2 separate regions of the Homo sapiens genome follow, and region 1 is linked to region 2. The links are contacts of gene promoters, found by promoter capture Hi-C in human tissues and cell types (Jung and others, 2019). All regions are on one chromosome and are shown on one strand. Each heading gives the region's core, a stretch centred on a gene start or on the middle of the fragment in contact. The rest is flanking DNA. Distances are from core to core; before and after follow the strand shown.

The links. Contacts are between HindIII fragments. The study calls those that stand out against the background at their distance.
Region 1: a contact is called between a fragment that was not itself captured here and the fragment with the promoter of RPS20 in region 2, in 2 of the 25 tissues and cell types used here (neural progenitor cells and spleen).

What each region holds. Positions count from the first base shown.
Region 1 is chr8:54,633,578-54,636,277 of GRCh38, forward strand. It overlaps a transcript of RP1 not described here. Among named protein-coding and RNA genes, the nearest start is that of RP1, 19 kb to the left of the region's middle. The HindIII fragment of the contact is 4,275 bases long and covers 1-2,700 here.
Region 2 is chr8:56,073,066-56,075,765 of GRCh38, forward strand. It overlaps RPS20 (ribosomal protein S20), which reads right to left and starts at 1,441. Exons shown (of 4, transcript NM_001023.4): 1 at 1,316-1,441; 2 at 995-1,094; 3 at 630-703; 4 at 1-207. The coding sequence starts at 1,318. The coding sequence ends at 25. It overlaps SNORD54 (small nucleolar RNA, C/D box 54), which reads right to left and starts at 836; the gene lies at 774-836. CERNA3 (competing endogenous lncRNA 3 for miR-645) reads left to right here and starts at 1,527. Exons shown (of 2, transcript NR_149110.1): 1 at 1,527-1,815; 2 at 1,942-2,209. The HindIII fragment of the contact is 21,018 bases long and covers 1-2,700 here.

The DNA of each region.
Region 1 (2,700 bases), core at 132-2,631, 1.4 Mb before region 2:
ACAGAGTTTGGCACACAGTGTTAAACATGTTTTAGCTATTTTTCTTTAAAAAGCCATTAGTGTGAATACGTTTGATACACTTTTCAAAGTTGGTGTTCTTCTGACCAAGATGTATTTTAGCTTTATTTTGTGCCTCTCTCTCTCTCTCTCTCTCTCTCTCTATATATATATATATATATATATGAAATGTAATATTTTCAACATTTAGTCATATAGCCCTTCACAAAAGTGAAGGTGACAAACAGTTTGAGCCCCTGCTCTGTGCCAAATATTGGGCTAAGTTCTTTATGTGTATTATCTTAGTCCTCACGAGAACCCTCTCGATGGGTAACAGTACCTTTAATGTAGCAGGAAGGGGACTAAAACTCACAGAGGCTAGTAAAGAAGCACTTTTACTTTAATATCTGTATTCGATTCTCATAAAAAGTCCTGAGTTTTGTGGTTTGATACTCTATGTACAGATCTACCCTGAAAACAAAATGACTTTCTATTCCCTGTTTATTGAGGTTAAGAAGGATTCCATTACTGCCCAGGGTTCTTTTAATCCAAAGTACTTACCATTTTTCCTACTATTCTACGCTCTTGTCCATTAAGGTATTAAAGGATAATTGTTTTTAAAAGCAAAATCATGAATTCCATATAGATATAACATGACCATGTGCCAAAGATTGTATTTAACTTACAAATTACATAGGGAATTATTAACATATACAATGGGCTGAAGGAAGAATTTAAAGTATCACTAAAAATAAGCAATAAGAAATGCTGAAATGAATTTGGGTCTGTCCAGGACAAAAATTACATTCCCTGGACACCACCAATTTATATTTCTATGGACAAGAATAGTTTGCATTATCTGTGTTTTTACAATTTGCAGGATTATCAGATAATTTAAAGATAATGAAAAAACAGAGATAACCCCAAGAGGGCTTGATAAGGCACTTAGTAATTTCTTTTTTGTCCATTTCAAGGTATTTCACAGTTTTTTTCCTAAAAGGGTTTATCTTCCAGTAACTTAAGTGCTAAGTTATTAAGGGACTATTCCCAAGTCATGGCAAAGAATGTATGACCAAAAAGCTTTTGAAAATTAAGCAACAAAACAGCAAACCTTCAAACAGAGACAAGTACTATGTTTGATGGTTTAGAGAAGATACGTTCATCTTGTTCTAGACAAAAATTAGTAAACAATTCCCATCATGGACTTTAGATGTAATATACAATGGGCTGGGCGCAGTGGCTCACACCTGTAATCCCAGCACTTTGGGAGGCCAAGGTGGGCGGATCACGAGGTCAAGAGATCGAGACCATCCTGGCGAACACGTTGAAACTCCATCTCTACTAAAAATACAAAAAAATTAGCCAGGTTTGGTGGTGGGCACCTGTAGTCCCAGCTACTCGGGAGGCTGAGGCAGGAGAATGGCATGAACCCAGGAGGCGGAGCTTGCAGTGAGCCGAGATGGTGCCACTGCACTCCAGCCTGGGCAACAGAGCGAGACTCCATCTCAAAAAAAAAAAAAAAGATGTAATATACAATGATTATTTTTTTATCAATGGGAATTCTTTCTAAAGGATATACACATGAGCCTTTTCTCTATGCATAGATATTTCATATATTAATGTTTACTTTTTGATTCATACACAGATTATCATAACAATCAGTAACAGCAAGAACAAAAAACAAAGGTCAATGGAGTAGAAATCATTTAGCTGCTTTTCATCTTGAGAATAGTTCTTTTCTTCTGTAACACTAATGTTGATAAATGGCTGCAGTCTACAGACTACTACTTACGTAAGACTGCTTAAAGCTCAGGTGAATCAATACAACCAAGTAAATTAAGATAGGATGGTAGGTTCATGGGAAAACATGACTTGTACATCACAGGAATTCATTATATTGAGAGTGAAAGTGGTTAGTGAGAAATGGGTGATACAAAGCTAAACACTATATTTATGTTCATATATATGAATATTCATATATATATTTATAAGTTTATTTAATGTAGTTGCTGCCTCAGCATCCATTTTTAGGATTGACATAATATTTGAAATTTAGTCCTACTTTGTCACCTTTGGCTTAGTTAAAAGCTTACTTTCCCGTGTAGTTGTTTGCCGTATGGCTTATTTGTTCCTCACTTCTTTGACCCAAAACCCAACACACCCCACAGCTATTGAACGTGATAAAATGTAACGGTCAACACCAGAGTCACATAAATAGGTTCACCCCTTCAGGAGGGAAGAGGGGAACTTATTTCTTTAAATTAGCCCATCTACAACCCCCACAAGAAAGCCTAAGGGATAATGTCCACAGAGCTTAATAAAGGCATACACAGTCCCAGAGATTTCCCCGTCCCTCTCTCCCAAAAGTTCTGTCTCACAACCTCCCTCCTTCCCTTTCTCCCTCTTCCTCTCCTCCCCACTGACCCCTTGCTGATTGAGCTCCCTGCTGCCTCTTTCTGTTGGCACCCCTAACCTTTCTGGGAACTGTGAATAATAAACACTTATGTTTTGCGCATTTCCATTTCACTTCATTGTGTCTCATTTGGCATAGATGCTCTTAACGTAGCCTTCTTTTTGGTCAGAGCTATCTTAGAGAGTGGCTGTCTTGACAGGAATAATCTGGATACAGGTCAGGCAAGACCCACAAGGGTGTCTGCCTGAAAAAACAGTTTGTTGTGAGAGGGACACCTAGTCATGGGTCAG
Region 2 (2,700 bases), core at 191-2,690:
CATCAATTTATTAAAATAGTTGACTTAAGCATCTGCAATGGTGACTTCCACCTCAACTCCTGGCTCAATACTGATGGAAGTAATCTGCTTAACAATCTCAGAAGGACTGTGCAAGTCAATGAGTCGCTTGTGAATTCTCATCTGGAAACGATCCCACGTCTTAGAACCTTCACCACAAGGAGTTTTTCTTGTAGTGATTCTCAAAGTCTGTAACAAAAGACAAAGGAAACCAAGTGTTTATCGTTTTATACTTATCCCTAGAACATCTGGAAAATCATTACTTCTAATCATTTCATTAGTTTCCCTTTGGTATGATTCCAATTTACACTAATAGATTTTCAGGTACCATGGGTTGAAAATGCCAGGTCTGTTTTCACTGTGCTAGGACACCACCCTTAGAGCTTGCGCCTGTTAAGCACCAAAGCACACCAAGAACACAGCAACAATAATTCAACAATCATATCTAAACATTAGCTACTTACTAGGAACCGCAATCTACCACCGATTTCTATGTGCGTTTGTAGACAGCATCAGTGTTAACAATTTTGGCAGCCGAACTCCTTAAAGAACCTGAATTTATGCAACATCCGGAAGCAACTCCTACTTCCTGCCCCTCCGATTTACTTTACCTTGGTAGGCATTCGAACTGGTCCTTTCACTTTGAGATTCTTTTCTTTTGCGCCTCTTATCAAGTCAGCACACACTACAGGAAATAAAAGACCTCTCAGTATAATCGAAACAATTAAAATCGGCTTAAGGCCTTCACTTCTGCTGGCTCAGAATAGCGTATAAAATTATCACCGTTACTCAACACAATAGGTACCTCCTCATCGCCAGCTGTATGACAGTAAAAGCAATTTTAAGCCACGCTTTACTTTTTTAAGTAACTTGTCACTTTAGTTCTTGCAGTCCACCTTCTACACTAACATTAACGAGTAAAGCTCGTCGCTTTTCGCCCAATTCCCCCTCCCCCCCGCATAACGAATGCACTGACCCTTTTCCAAGGATTTTACGTTGCGGCTTGTTAGGGTGATTCGAATTCGGTGAATTGCCACCTCCGGCTCCACGGGTGTTTTTCCGGTATCCTTAAAAGCCTATTATTAGATACATGAAAAAGAACAATAAGCCAAAAATGGTCTGCCACTTCTGGAGAAAGGCAGCTTCCGGAAGCTTCCCGCGTTTCCCCACCATTTCAGGAGCGCCTTTCCGCCCCTACACGCCCCGGCATCTGCCCTCAGGAGCACGAACTCGAAACCGGGGTCCCCCCGGCGCCCGAGCCCTGCGTTGCGCCGCCCGCCGCCGACTGCCGCCTCACCATGGCTGTTGCGCGCGGGCTTCCTGACCGACTTGTTCCTCGGCGAGAGCGAACAGCGGTGAGTCAGGAGCAGGAGCGTGCGGACCAAAAATCCTCAGCCCTTACGACCGCGTCTTCCTCAAAAAGAAAGGGGTGGGACTTGAGCAACGCTTATATAGCACGCTTGCATCCGGGTCCCACACGCCCCGGAACAGGAAATATCCCGGGCCCTAGAGGCGGTCGCACAAGGGCGAGCTGGAGCACTAGTGGAGTTGGCGGGAAAGGCACGGCTGCGGGCGCCCCCTGTCCGCACGGAGGAGCCGAAGTCCCGCAGGGTGGGGTCCCCGCCTGCGCCGAGAGGGCCACCTGGTCGAGAGAACAGGCGACACGGAAACCTGAGAAACTCCTCTGTCTGGTGCACCTAACCCTCTTCCTCATAAAGTGCACACGAACTCTGGTTTTTCCGTTGCAAATTTTGCTTTCTACATAGACCATACCATTCGTTGCTCTCTGAGGATGAGGTAACTTCTCTGAGCTTAGCTGACATGAGCATTGGCAGAAATGCTTCTCGTAATCTGGATAACTTACGTTAGAATTAGTAAGCAGTTATTTTTCATAGCCTGAAACGTCCTGTTGTGATATTTCAGCTCCTGGCTTCCCAGTCCAGCAGAAGTATCTACATCTATTTCTGGAAAGGACCTGAACTTGGCTTCTCGTCCTTCTGGAAAGTGAGGCGAAAATGCCAGGCTGCGCAGCTATCCTGAGGCCCGGCCTGGAACCTGGCTAGCCACCCAGTCCTGATACCTCATCTCCTTTCTGTTGGATAAAGTCATTGGATAAGATCCCCCAGGGTCTTCTTAATACTGAACATCTGTTCATAATCACATAAGTGACCAAGTATAGTGGAAAACCCGAATGGTCAACTGAGCTGAGCAGTGGGAGAGAGCGCAGGGTGAGCTCACCTACACCTGAGCAAGAAGCCGGGGCTAAATACGTGGAAATCACTGAGATGGATTTTGATACAGGGCAGAAAGAAGAGTAAAATCATCTCATATTACTTTCCACCTGAAGCTCTGAGCCGAAAGAGTTATTTGCTCAAACACTCTGAAATGGGGAGGGACAGAGCTCTGACCCCTCCGTCCAGGCCTGTTTGTTGTTTTTTTTTTTTGTTTGTTTTGTTTTTTTTTTTTTGTGAGACGGAGTTTCATTCTTGTTGCCCAGGCTGGAGTGCCATGGCGCGATCTCGGCTCACCGCAAACTCCGCCTCCTGGGTTCAAGCGATTCTCCTGCCTCAGCCTCCGGAGTAGCTGGGATTACAGGCATGCGCCACCATGCCCGGCTAATTTTTTTTTTTTTTTTTTTTTTTTTAGTAGAGACGGGGTTTCTCCATGTTGATCATGCTGGTC